5 separate regions of the Homo sapiens genome follow, and all the other regions are linked to region 1. The links are contacts of gene promoters, found by promoter capture Hi-C in human tissues and cell types (Jung and others, 2019). All regions are on one chromosome and are shown on one strand. Each heading gives the region's core, a stretch centred on a gene start or on the middle of the fragment in contact. The rest is flanking DNA. Distances are from core to core; before and after follow the strand shown.

The links. Contacts are between HindIII fragments. The study calls those that stand out against the background at their distance.
Region 2: a fragment that was not itself captured here is called in contact with the fragment with the promoter of CCDC146 in region 1 in 1 of the 25 tissues and cell types used here (H1 embryonic stem cells).
Region 3: a contact is called between the fragment with the promoter of PTPN12 here and the fragment with the promoter of CCDC146 in region 1, in 1 of the 25 tissues and cell types used here (hippocampus).
Region 4: a fragment that was not itself captured here is called in contact with the fragment with the promoter of CCDC146 in region 1 in 2 of the 25 tissues and cell types used here (H1 embryonic stem cells and hippocampus).
Region 5: a contact is called between a fragment that was not itself captured here and the fragment with the promoter of CCDC146 in region 1, in 1 of the 25 tissues and cell types used here (small bowel).

What each region holds. Positions count from the first base shown.
Region 1 is chr7:77,121,261-77,123,950 of GRCh38, forward strand. It overlaps CCDC146 (coiled-coil domain containing 146), which reads left to right and starts at 1,355. Exons shown (of 19, transcript NM_020879.3): 1 at 1,355-1,472. It also overlaps the pseudogene FAM185BP. RefSeq lists enhancers at 144-645, 646-1,145 and a silencer at 1,041-1,140. The HindIII fragment of the contact is 9,649 bases long and covers 1-2,536 here.
Region 2 is chr7:76,644,505-76,647,194 of GRCh38, forward strand. No RefSeq gene overlaps it. Among named protein-coding and RNA genes, the nearest start is that of POMZP3, 19 kb to the left of the region's middle. The HindIII fragment of the contact is 3,357 bases long and covers 1-2,690 here.
Region 3 is chr7:77,535,976-77,538,665 of GRCh38, forward strand. PTPN12 (protein tyrosine phosphatase non-receptor type 12) reads left to right here and starts at 1,320. Exons shown (of 18, transcript NM_002835.4): 1 at 1,320-1,670. The coding sequence starts at 1,572. LOC124901681 (a long non-coding RNA gene) reads right to left here and starts at 974. Exons shown (of 3, transcript XR_007060395.1): 1 at 396-974; 2 at 1-306. RefSeq lists enhancers at 400-449, 620-839 and silencers at 910-1,209, 1,460-1,669, 1,810-1,859. The HindIII fragment of the contact is 12,054 bases long and covers 1-2,690 here.
Region 4 is chr7:77,426,644-77,429,333 of GRCh38, forward strand. No RefSeq gene overlaps it. Among named protein-coding and RNA genes, the nearest start is that of GSAP, 12 kb to the left of the region's middle. RefSeq lists an enhancer at 529-1,225. The HindIII fragment of the contact is 3,109 bases long and covers 1-2,690 here.
Region 5 is chr7:77,402,708-77,405,397 of GRCh38, forward strand. It overlaps GSAP (gamma-secretase activating protein), which reads right to left. Exons shown (of 31, transcript NM_017439.4): 3 at 1,852-1,908. Among named protein-coding and RNA genes, the nearest start is that of GSAP, 12 kb to the right of the region's middle. The HindIII fragment of the contact is 3,186 bases long and covers 1-2,690 here.

The DNA.
Region 1 (2,690 bases), core at 105-2,604:
CTGTTTTGGGACACACCCCCAGGCTGTGAGCAAGGGGAAATGTAGATGGACTGCCATACCATTGAATGAATTGTCAAGAAACTTCAACCTTGAAAAATAAGCCAGTTTGCTAATGACAACGGGATAAAGAAGAACACAAGCGGCTCCAGAAATAGAATTTGACCTGGATTATACCAAATCGTGTTTCCATTCGATGTATAAAATTTCTATAATTGGGAACCTAATTTTTTAAATACTACTCGGATACTCAAGAATAGAACAGAGGAAAAGTTGCATTTCCGAAGGGGCCAACTGTAAATTAGGTTTAGAAAGCCAGGACCAATTAAAAGTGCACGTCGACCAAATTTATTAAGTTCACTGTGCGTTCCCTGGGACCCAAACCCGTTTTCACTTCACTTCACTTGCCAAACTTCAGGGGCGCGTTCACCTCCACGGACGCCTGGGGGTGGATAGTATCAGACACAATGGCCATCTCCTCCAGATCCTCGTCGTACTTCACCTGCAGGCCGTCCAGGCCCCGCACGCCGCCCTCCACGCCGCACACCGCGACCAGCACGCGGTCGCCATCCGGGTAGGTGAGGGGGTCCAGGGGCCTCACGGCCAGGTGGCACGGGAGCCGCGCCCGCAGCCGACCGAACGGGCTCACCTGCAGTGTCCACTCCTTCAGAGTTCGGCGCGCCGGGCCAGGCGGAGGGACCTCAGTCTCCGATCCGGGCCAGCGCTCGCCCCTACCTGAGCTGTACGGCCTGGCTTGGCAAGCCCAGCAAGACCAGCGCCCAGCGCCAGCCCACAGTCGGACCTGACGGAGACAGAGACGGAAGCAGCCAAGCTCCCAACCTGAACAGGGGGCAAGCATGGCGCGCCTCTCTCGCCAGTCCTCAGAACACTTCAGCCACAGGGAGGGTCACTTGCCACGGCCAATCGACTTGGCCACTGTGCCGCCTCAAGTCAAATAGGAGACGTAAGTCAGGGTTTGCTGAAACAAGAGCGAGCCGGTTGGCTTGACTAGGCGATGTAAACATCAGCTGCGTAATCCCCAGGGGCAAGTTGGGATTTGAAAGCTCTGAACTCTGACCTGGACCCCTTGCCTAAGTCCACCCCCTTTCGCTAAGGCCGACGGGATACGTAGTTCTAAAGCGGTGGAAAGTCGCAGAGCTCCGCCTCTTAGAAACCACATATCCCAGGAGGCAATGCGCAGGGGAGCACGGGTAAGAGGGCAGGTGTTAGAATCGCTGGAAAGGCGGGCGCCCTTTGTTTCAAGACCATTGGCTATTGGAGGGGCGGTACATGGGAGGCCACTGGCCAATGGGAAGCACGGAAGGGGGCAACGAGGGTAAAGCTGCATGGTCACCTTGGATACCAAGGACGCGACTTCTTGTTTGGAGAGGGTGGAGCTTTGGAGTGAGACCCAGGAGGCCAAATCCCAAAGAGAAAAATAGGAGCCTAAATAAGGATCAGGACCAAGGGAAGGGGTAAGAAACTGCGCTTTTTAAGTTGACAACTAGGTGCAAACTAGGAGTAACCTATGTGGATGTCAAGATCCAAGCTTCACTAACCTAGTGCGGGCATCTCCAGGGCATGGAGAATGCCTTGGTAAGAGAGTAAAGAGCAAGATTGGTGCTTTTTGAGGGAATTGCCTCTTTGGAAGTGTATTCCCTCCTATATTCCAAATATAGGAATAGAGTACTTGCTCCGTCCTGACCCTAAGTGACCTTACTTTGGGTTTTAATTTGCTCACTTTAAAAATGTAGATGATAATACCTTCCTTGCCTTGCCTCAAAGGGTTTTTGTGAGGATCAAGTAAGAAAATGGATGGGACCGTGGTGCACAGTCTACCAAATTACCGTGTAAAGTACTGTATTTTTATTTCAACGTACTTAACATTGATTCTGAGTTACCAAGAAAATTATGAGAGATCAGAACTTGTTTTGAGAATAGCATTGATCTCTTTGACTACAAATGATCATCAGTTTTAGAGTGAAAAAAAAAAAGACACAAAAAAGAGAGTCACCATGGTGCGGTGGAAAGAGCAGGGACAAGGGTCAGATTATTTTCCTGGCTCTGCCACTGCTTCATCTGTGTCACCTAGACCTGTTTCTTTAGTTTTAAAATGAAGAAAGATGGTTCTAAATGACCCTATAAGGTGTGTGTGTGTGTGTGTGTGTGTGTGTGTGTGTGTGTGTGTGTGTGTGTGTGTTTACCTTTTATAATTCTATGGGCAGTAAAATAATGGGAACAGAAAGATTTATTTTCTTCTTTTTTTCTTCTTTCCTGCCTGGTTTCTCTCTCCCCCTCTGTGCCCCTACTTCCTCCTAAAATGTATTCCCTAAATTATTTAGCCAAGACACCTGCAAACACTAACATTTCATAAAATGCAAGTGCCTTAAAAAATTGAAGCCCTTACCCAAGTACAATGACCAGAATTCTTGGGGCTATCGTGATAGATAGACTGGGCTAAAGTTCTCATGGGTACAAGTCTCAGGTTCTCTGCTAGCCACTACCTTTTTAAAATTTTTAAAAATTCAGTGTTCTCTTAAGTTATCATTGCCTCTTTTCTGTCCTTCTAGTCCTTGCTCCCTCCTTATTCTTCTTTCGGTGAAGACTCACTCATTATAGGTGCTAGCTCAGGTTCAGCAAGGGCCCACTGCAATAGTTCTTTTCTTGTCTTTGTGTTTCATTGGTTATAATTA
Region 2 (2,690 bases), core at 102-2,601, 480 kb before region 1:
CTAGCCAATGATCATAAGTATGTATAATATAATCTCTACAGCCACCTATAAAATCCTATACAAAAATATATACTAAATGGCATACTGAATTGATTTAGCACGGCATATGAAGTTAAATGGCATACTAAGAAATGTCTAAGTACCCCATAAAAAGGCAAGAAAAGGGAAACAGGTATAAAAAAACCCAGAGGGAACAAGTAGAAAATAGATAATAAAAACCCGTCCAAAATTAAATATAAATCTTCTAAACACAGCAATCAAAAAGGTTGTTGGAATCTGTTTTTTTAAAAATGACTCATGGCCAAGTGTGGTAGCTTATGCCTATAATCCCAGCACGTTAGGGGGCCGAGGCGGAGGGAATCACTTGAGCTCAGGAGTTTGAGACCAGCCTGGGCATGATAGCGAGACCCCATCTCCACAAAAAGAATAAGAAAAAAAAAAGATTAGCCAGGCATGGTGGCACACACCTATAGTCCCAGCTACTCGGGAGGCTGAGGTGAGAGAATCACTCAAGCCCAGGAGGTCAAGGCTGCAGTGGGCCGTGACTGCACCACTGCACTCCAGCCAACAGAGTAAGACTCTGTCTCAATAAATAAATAAATATCAATAGTCACATAAGATGGCAGAGTAGGAAGCTGTAGTGTAGAGATCAGTCCCTTCACTGAAGCAACCACTGAGCTAGAAAGAGTGATTGGAATCAGCTCTTTTGGAATTCTGAAACATGACCAGGAACTCCTAACAACCAGAGACATACTTAAACAATGAAGAGAGAGGCTGCTGATCTTCACGAGTGAGTGGCATGTGCCAACCAGCCAACACTCCCCCATTCCTGAGCCTGAGTTCCCGAAGCAGCTGGCTGATGCCAGGGCGAGCAGCAGAACTCTGTCCTCCAAAACCGTGGGTTCTGCACCTTGGTGGGTCCAATGGGTCTCTGAGGACCAGCCCGGATGCTTGCCTTGGTTTATTTGGCCCTCTCAGCAACAGTGGCTTCCCCAGGGACATCCTTCAGAAGATTTTATTAAAGAGACAAAATCCTCCTCTGCCCCACCCCATTTAAAGCCACCTATTTAAGGAAATCCATGTTAGGTGGCTGGCTGACTGCAGAGATAATGAAACAAATTTCAGTGACCACACAAGCACAAGGAAGAAACACTTTGCAAAAATAGTTTGGAAAAGTAACAAAAGGGGAGCTCCAGACCTCAACAAGCAAAACCCAGCAATCCCAGGTGTCTGAGAGAATCACATTTTGAGGGTCATTACATTGTAACACTTAAAATGCAACGTTCTCAACAAAAAACTACAAAATATACAAAGAAACAGGAAATAGGAAGCTTAGACCATTCACAGGAAAAAAACAGCAAAGAAAATCAGCAAACAATACAATAACTGAACACCATCATCGACCAATGGAACCTAACTGACATTTACAGGAGACTTCACACACCAACAGCAGGGTACACATTCTTTGCCCATGGAAGATTCAGCAAGATTTACCAGAACCTGGGTCATAAAACAAATGTTTTTCTGAGATGGAGTCTCTTTCTGTCACCCAGGCTGGAGTGCAGAGGTGCAATCGGCTTACTGCAACCTCCGCCTCCTGGGTTCAAGCAATTTTCCTGCCTCAGCTTCCAAGTAGCTGGGATTACAGGCATGCACCACCACGCCTGGCTAATTTTTGTGTTTTTCAGACGGGGTTTTGCCATGTTGGCCAGGCTGGTCTCAAACTCCTGACCTCAGGTGATCTACCTGCCTCGGCCTCCCAAAGTGATGGGATTACAGGTGTGAGCCACCATGCCCGGCCAAAACAAATCTTAAGAAATGTAAAATAACTGAAATCATACAAAATATGTTCTGTGACTGTAAAATAATTAAACTAAATCAATTTAAAAAAGAAACCAGAAAATCTCTAAACACATGGAAATTAAATACACTTCTAAATAATTCATGGGTCAAAGAGTGAGTCGCAAGGGAAACTGGAAAACATATTGAATTATGTAAAAGTGAAAATATAACATGTTGACTGGTATCAGCAAAAATGGCAGAGTAGGTATCTCCAAGTCCCCATCCCCCCACAGAAACATTGATAAACCAAGCAAAACTGTCTGAATCAACTTCATGAGAACTGTAGAAAAATAATCAAAATAATCAAAGGTTTACAATAACCAGATCATCTGATGTGGCTCTTTGTCCCCAAGCACATCTCATCCTGAATTGTAATCCCCAGGGGTCAAGGAGGGACCTGGTGGAAGGTGACTGGATCACGGGCGCGGTTTGCCCTATGCTGTTCTCGTGATAGTGAGGGAGTTCTCACGAGATCTGATGGTTTTTAAGTGGCAGTTTCCCCTGCACTCTCCCCTCTCTCCTGCCAGCCAGTGAAGAGGGTACTTGCTTTCTTGTTAGCTTTCCACCATGATTGTAAGTCTCCTGAGGCCTCCCCAGCCAAGTGGAACTGTGAGTCAATTAAACCTCCTTTCTTTATAAATTACCCAGGCTCAGGCAGTTCTTTCCAGCAGTGTGAAAACTGACTAATACTCCAAATGAACACTGAATCAAGAAAAAAGCAACTTCAAAATGGTAGGAAAACTGGGTTATTTTACTTGCCCTTGCCCCACAACCTTCCATGGTTCAGTGGGAACCTTGAAGATGGCAGCCCACATTCCCAGCGTGGTTTCTGGTATTGAAGGCAGCAG
Region 3 (2,690 bases), core at 70-2,569, 410 kb after region 1:
GAAGTTTACAAAGATGAATAAAGATTTATAGGCTAGGCGCGGTGGCTCACGCCTAAAATCCCAACACTTTCGGAAGCTGAGGATCCCTAGTGCACAGGAATTCGAGATCAGCCTGGGCAACCTGGTGAGACCCCCTTCTCTACCAAAAATAAATAAATAAATAAATAATAAATTTTTAAAATGTATTAGCTGGGCTTGGTGACGTAGTGAGGCAGGAGGATGCCTTGAGCCCAGGAGTTCAAGGCTGCAGCGAGCCGTGATCATAGCACTGCACTTTGGCATGGGAGATAGAGCAAGACCTTAGCTCTAAAAAAAAAAAAAAAAAAAAATTAATAGATTTATAAAGTCCATTCTATGGAGGAAAGTCTCTTATTCAGTTATGAACTGCTGCGAACCTAAAGGCAGGAAGGCAAATTCCCTTCAGTTCGGCAAACACGAAGACCCCACATTCGCGTCGTCTGTGAAGAAGGCACTCCGAACCTCAGGCGCTCACTCGCCAGGTTTAAGAGGATGAGCAAAGAATAAAAGTCCTCTCACCCAGGAAGCGTTTCGCTTCCCTTAGCTGGAGCCACGCTCCAAGGTGCCAAAGCCTAATTGCTGTCCACTCTCACCAATCCGTTAGCAAGATGAGCATCTACCTGCTGCGAACGTGGCGGTGACACTACTACAGCTCCCAGCCTGCCTCCCGCCCGCCCCCACTCCTGGACTCCACAGACCGTGACTTGTAGTCCCAGCCCACGGCTGGCGGCGGTGCGGGACTCCTGAAAACTGCTTTTCCTCCCTAGTAGGCGGTGAGACCGCAAATTCCATCAGAATCCTACTCTGACCCACTAGGGCTTGGCCCGCTCAGAGTCGCATTCCCTCCTCCAAATGAACCAACTCTCCTCCCAGCGATACTCCGACCTCTGAGCACCCCGGGCGGGGCCACGCCCCGGAAATGGAGTCAGGTCTCCAGGCCGCCCGCTGAAGTGCCTTCCAGCCACTCCAAGCGGGGCTGGGGCCGGCGGGGCGGGCTTGGGGGCGTGGCCGGGAGGCGGGCGGGGATGCATCTGCGGGCGCAGCGCTTGGGGCGGAGCCGCAGCGCGAGGCCGCGCATCTGGGTGGCGGCGGGGACGCGCCCGTGGGGAGAGGCGGCTGCGGCTGCGGCTGCGGCTGCTGGCGGGGGGTGGGGGGGAGGAGGAACCGGGAAGGGGGGGCAGGGCGAGCGGAGAGCTAGCTGTGTTCCTGAGGCGGCGGCGGCGGCGGCGGCGGCGGCGGCGTCTCCGACGGAGGAGGAGGGCGGGGAAGGAGGATGGAGCAAGCTGGGGGTTGGGGTTGGCGCTAGCGCAGCGGCTCGCCTGGTACTGTGGGAGAGCGGCGGCTGCTCCTGGAAGTTGTGGTGTCGGGAGCCCAGCCGGTGCCGCCGCAGCCGCCGCCTAGGGCGGTGGGGAGGAGGAGGGAGCCGCGGGGCTTGGCGGGGTCGGGAGGGAGGGACGTGCTGGGGGAACGAGCTGGGGAAGACGGAGCGGGCTCTGTGCCGGGCGGGCGGGCGGCGGGGGGGCCAGCGACCGCAGCCGGGGGGACGCGGGAGGATGGAGCAAGTGGAGATCCTGAGGAAATTCATCCAGAGGGTCCAGGCCATGAAGAGTCCTGACCACAATGGGGAGGACAACTTCGCCCGGGACTTCATGGTGAGTCTCTCCCCTCGCTGTCGCGTTTTCTTGCCGGCGCCGGAGCCCATCGCCGCCTCTCCCGGCCGGGCCGCCAGTGCTTTGTGTACCTCTGTGAGGAGAGGGGCGGAGGGGGCGCGCACCAGCCGGGTGAGCCGGGTGGTCTCGGAGGCCAGCGGGAGGCGAGAGCGCCTCCCCCCGTGGCCTCCTTTCTTCTCCCATGTTCGCGACCCCCGCGCGGGTTCCCGGGACGCGAAGGGAGCGGCCGCGCGGCCGAGCCCGCAGCCTGCACCGTGGCTCGCGACCACCTATTGTTTACCGGGCCGGGAGCCGTAGGCAAGTGAGGTGCAGGCCGGGGGGGGGGGCTCGCGTTTCCACACCTCCCCGCGCAGTTCGCTCCTCCCAGGAGGGTCGAGGCAAGGTATCTGGCTGTGACCGGGAGGAGTGCAGATCGTGGCTGACAGAGGAACGGGGGTATTGAGGTTGGCACTAACTCCTGGGATCCCTTTGCTCTAGCTGGTCTCAAAGCGGGCAGGGTAGGACTTAGGCCGTTTCTGGGGTCGCAGTCATGATCTCCAACGCTTGGGAAAGGATTGCCCATAAGGAATCTCATGGGTTTACCTAATTTCCATTTACCCGCGTCCCGCTTCTCCTCTCCTGAGGCCCAGGTTTGAGGTGGTCTTGGGGTCCGTGTGACTATAGGTTCAGGGGATAAGTGTGGGTGGGGGAATTATCCTGAAGGAAGCCAGCCGACTTCGGACTCCCCAGGGGATATTGCCGAAGGCGGAGGGGATGTGACTATCACTTCCTATCCGGGGTGGGGGTGGGGAACTTGGGAACAATAGTCCTGGTGGGGCGGAGGCGACGCTACGGGCCGAAGCCCTGAACTGGGAGATAACCTTCCCAGCGCCCCCCCGCCTCCGCCACCCCCTACTTTCCGCCCTCTGCTTGTGCAGGCAGTCTTGAGAGGAGGTGAAGGTTAAAAGTCTTGTTCATGAAATTGCTCTAGATACACTATTGCTTTAGCACACTGTGAGGGGG
Region 4 (2,690 bases), core at 77-2,576, 310 kb after region 1:
GTCACCTTTCTCTTCAGGGCCTCCAGCTTTCCAAATGTCCATCTAATCTGTGTCCACCCCCGGGAGCAGATAGTAGTTTCCCGTGTTCTTTGATAGTATCAAAACTTTGTCACTTAAGAAAAAGCCTGATATTTACACCAGGTTGGCCAAATGCTCAGCTGAGTCTCAAGAGGGTAAAGAATTTCAGGCATTTAAAAAAAAAGAAAAGAAAAAGGCCAGCAATGGAGTCATGTATTTAGTACTTGACTCAGAGTTAACAGGCCTGGATTCTTGAGGCAGCCCTGGCATGAACAGGCTCTGTGACCTTAGGCAAGTTGCTTAACTTTTCTGAACTTGGTTTTCTCATTTGTAAAATAAAAGAAGTTGAACTATGATCCCCAAGGCCCCATTTGCTTAACAGTGCTGATTCTTAACTACAGTAGCAATAAGATCATCAAAAAAATTCACTTCCCAATCCCTGTCACCAAGTTCATATGCAGAGAGACAGAGGGGCTTAGGAGAAAACTGCAACCTAGTAACCAAGGAAACATGAAAATTTTAACAGTGAAAGACATCCTGTGTAGCAAATTCTACAAAGTGAACCAGGAAAATAGAATTAAGGATGAAGAAATAGGCTGGGCGCGGTGGCTCACGCCTGTAATCCCAGCGCTTTGGGAGGCTGAGACAGGTGGCTCACAAGGTCAAGAGATCGAGACCATCCTGGCCAACATGGTGAAACTCTGTCTCTACTAAAAATACAAAAATTAGCTGGGTGTTTTGGCACGTGCCTGTAGTCCCAGCTACTTGGGAGGCTGGGGCAGGAGAATTGCTTGAACCCGGGAGACGGAGGTTACAGTGAGCCAAGATTGTGCAACTGCACTCCAGCCTGGTGACAGAGCAAGACTCCGTCTCAAAAAATAAAACAGGAAATAGTAGGGAGAGTTTTCAGAAACTCTCCTCTACTCCCCAACTTACCCTCAAAAATCAAATTGTAGGTTTCCCCACAGATCTCTGGAAAAAAATGCTTGATAGTTCTCTGGGGTAAACCCTTCTATTTGATCTAAGATTCAGGTAGTGTTAACTTTTGCTTCAAATGCCTTAGTCAAGATTGCTTTTACTGTTAGAAAAATCCTAACTCCTTACATACTGATTATATGCAATCTAGGTAAGTCAAGCCTTCTGCCCTGTCTGCCATTCAGAAGTCTCTTTCATGTATGTAGCTGAATAGTAATCTCATAAAATAATATTGGAATGAATAAAGACCCAGATGTCTCAGGTCATTCCATCCACGCAGTTTCCTCTTTCTCCTTCCTATATTTACATATTAATTTTAAGTCACAGGTGAAAATTAAAGCTTGCTGTCTCTCAGTCTCTCTTTGATATTGCAAAGAAATGTTACAAAGCTTCCTAAGGGAAGGTTTCTTGCAGGAAATAGTGACTCCCAGTATGATTAGTCCCCAAATCTGCCTGCTAGGCTGAGTGAAGAGGACTGAAATGCTCTGTGGGTCACAAGGTCATAAACCTCAGGAATCTGGCCACACTGTCAGGCATTCTCCGCCAAGGACTGGGGGATGTGGGTTCCTATTAGAAGCCAGGTCACCACCAGCTGAAATTGAAACATACATCATAGTCACATCCTGTTTAAGTGAAAACTAACTTCTATTTCCTGGAATTGCTTTTTGTCTGAGGAGAGGGAGTGATTGGGGTGTAGTTAAGGGTAGCTAAGGTGCATGTCATCCCTTGGAATGGGAAGCACGCAGGTTAACGGGGGATGTGGGGACTGCCCTGGAGCATCTTGTCTCTCAGCCATCTCTAGCTCACGTCTCACCCTCCCTTGTTCACCTCTCCCAAGTTCTCGAGTGAGCATTCTGGGCACAGGGAGGTCAAGAGGAAAATGGGGGAAAGTAGTGGGAAGGGTAAGTGAGATGAGAGATGGTAATGATAGAGATCAAATCCTTTTTAGGCCTCCTGTCCCTTGTTTTTCCATCTTGGAGATAGGCTCAAGCTCCGAAATTGAGGGCTACAAGAGCAATAGAGAGAAGCTTTGCTTTCATGGCTGGCACAAAATATGAACCACAAGTTAGAATATCTCCTATTTGAGCATTTATCTGGAATGAGCTCTGAATCCCAGAGGAGGAGTTTCTCCTCCAAGATACAAGTCCTGAACTGGCTCAGAAAGAGAAGCACCCTCTAACGAGTTGGTGGGATAAGCTTTGCGCTGTTTGTGATCAGCCACTCCCCGTACTGCCCACAGGCTGGCCCGCCCGTCCCAACCTTGCTATCACCCTGTGGAATGCCAATTCTAAGAGGCACTTGTATAGAGGGCTTATTAAAACACTGATTGCTAGGCTCCACCCCACAGCTTCTGATTTGCGTCTCTAACAAGTTCCCACGTGATGCTGATGTTGATGATGCTGAACCACACTTGAGAACCACTAGCCCAGCACATCGTAGGCATTTAACCAACATTTGTCGTTCATTTCACAATGGGAAGTCAAGGATGAGTGCTGCGGAACTGAAGAAGATAGGAACCATCTCATTCTGGATCTCTGAGTTTAGAAGTATTTGTTGCATGTTTCCTGCTTCCCACACTGTTCATGCAATTTTAGCAATTTTCAGGAAACAGCTGTTGCTTTCCACCTTGAGAGACAATGAAAACTTAATAATAGGTAAAACGACATTTTGGAAGAAACTGACGTACCTTATATATC
Region 5 (2,690 bases), core at 123-2,622, 280 kb after region 1:
CTGTAAGGGTTGTGCCTACGTGGAGAAGAGATGGGAGAAGGGGAGGGTTTGTTTAGCGACTACGGTTCAGAAGAAAAATTTGCCTGTTTACAAAGCTAGTTTAAATTTCCTATTAATTTATCCTTTGGCCAATTTATTTTCTGGACTAACTTTCACATTTTGGAATTCAAAGCACCTTTGTCACTGGAAAATTTTTGAAAAACAGCCACTCTGGAGGGAACCTATCACTATCAATCCAGTGAAAAACATTCACTGTACTCCTACCACTCACAGGCAGTAAGCTAAAGGTAACGGGGATAAAACACATTGGTATGCAAAGTGCTCCTACTGTCAAGTGCTCACAGTCTTGGGAGAGAGGAATATGACCACAAAAGATAGCAGCAGTCACCACAACTGGATTGACAGAAGACAGACTATGATGTCTCCTCTCAATCCACCTTTTTAGAATACATGCCACACAGAAATTAAGCTAACAATTGCACTGAAAACTTGAGATTTTATTCTCTTTCCCTAGACTGTGTATTGTGAGTTTATGTTGATCATCACTGTGTCTCCAGCACCTGACAGGGAAAACACTCAATGCTTATTTGTTGGATCAGTGAATGGGTGAATGAATTAATGAATAAAGGTGAAAGGGGTGGAAGAAGGGAAGAGAGAATTAACCAAGCAGCGTATTGGAACCCTGAAGAGTAAGGTGACCTGTAAAAAATTTGTAATGGATAAAGGACATTTAAGTTCAAAGATGTCTAATATTCAATTCTAAATTGTTTTTACATAGGTACAAAATTACTCCCTCCCATTTGCTCCCAGAATTAGACAAAGCCTGTCACATCAACCAACGCCTTATGTGAGTAATTTGGGGAAAAAAATAAGGAAAGGGGTTCCTTGTCTGGATCACTAAGAAATAATGAGAAACAAGACATGTGAAGGTTAAGCAGAAGCAGAAAGAGTCAGAGGTCATTATAGGATGACCTGGGAGTACACAAATCTCAAGAAGGACATTGGACCTCCTACTTTCTTAGAGGATATTGAATAATTTGTTTGAGCCAATTTTACTTAAATCTCAAAGGTCTAAGAGACCTCACCTCACTTTGTGGTCCAATAGTCCTTGCATTTTTTGTTTAGGATAACAGGACCAAGAGATCGTTAAGGGAGAAGAGAAGGAAAGCAAAGAAATATAATTTTTTAGAAAATAAAGTTGGTATTCCCACTCCTAGATACACACACAAAAGAATTAAAAAATACCTATGTATACAATAGTGTTCATAATAGGCAAATATTAGAAACAGGTGTCCATCAACAAATAAATGAATAAAACTGTTGCATGTACTGTGATAACTGATTACAAGAACTGGAGTTATTCTGTCATACTCAATCGAGTTAAATCAAGAGATCAGGAGAGGAAAAAAGCAGCACACAGGGCACAAGGGCCTGCCCAGGTATTGTGCAAGCCAGCTGCCAAAATGACCAAATGCCATAAACTTAAGAACAGCTTCACCTAGTAGCTGCTGAAACAAACTGCCATGGCTCTAAAACTAGTTTTACCTACTGCTTTCCCACACCGATGAGATCTGCCAGCTCCTGGAAACTTTCCTATTGCCAATGAGTTTTCTTTCAAAGCCATGTGTAACATTTCTCTTTCTGATAAAACCCCCAACCTTTCTTAGTTCTTTGGACATACCAAAGACTACCCTGGTCTGTGTGTATGCCTCAAATTGCAATTCTGTTTTTTCAAATAAAATGTTTACAGAAAAAGAGAAAATAAAGTTGGAATTTATATCTAGAAAAAGGAGGAGACAAAGAAAACTCTAAAGGCAGTAAAGTAACCAATGAGTAATCTATGATTTTTACCTCATTTTGTCTGGTTTGACAATCATATAATCCAAAGACGACATTTCCCTTATCATCCTAAAAAAAATTAACCAGATGTTTATTAAATGTCATTGTTTAGGAAGTTAGAATGTTACTAGTTTTAAAACCAACCTGCAATAACTCAATCTTAGCAGTAAGCACTCTAAAAGAAGCTTTCTGTGCCTGTCAGAGGGGGACTGAATCCAGTTCAGCTAGTCATTTGGGCTCAAAGAATGAAATGGATCAACAGTGTAGAGCTCAGTGAGTTTGGGGAACTGTCTAGTAGGACTGAGCATGGTGGGCGTAAATCTTTTTATACTTCCACTTATGTCTTTGAAAACACACACATATGATAGATAATAGGGATGACTAGGACAAGTCCGTAACATTCTTATAAGTAAAACATTGTGAATCACACAATTCCTTAAAGGTACCATTCTAAGACACAACTTAAAATAATTATTTTTACTTTAAAAAGTACAGTGATATAACTGTGCAAAGCAAACTGGCCATTTGAATTATTCATGTGTGCTTATTATAGTAAAGTTAAATTTTCCTTAGAACACTTGACATTGAAAACACATTGTTAAATAACATGCTTCACATGCCTATAGTCCTAGCTACTGGGGAGGTTGAGGCAGGAGCTCAAGGAACCTACTTGAGCCCATGAGTTTGAGGCTGCAGTCAGCTATGATTGTGCCACCACACCCCAGCCTGGGTGACAGGGCAAGACTCTGTTTCTAAAAACAAAATAATAATAATGCTTCGAAAGTCCTAACATATCTACGTCTGAAGAGAGTAATCATATTTAATATTTTCTCCAATGATAAAATGTTAAC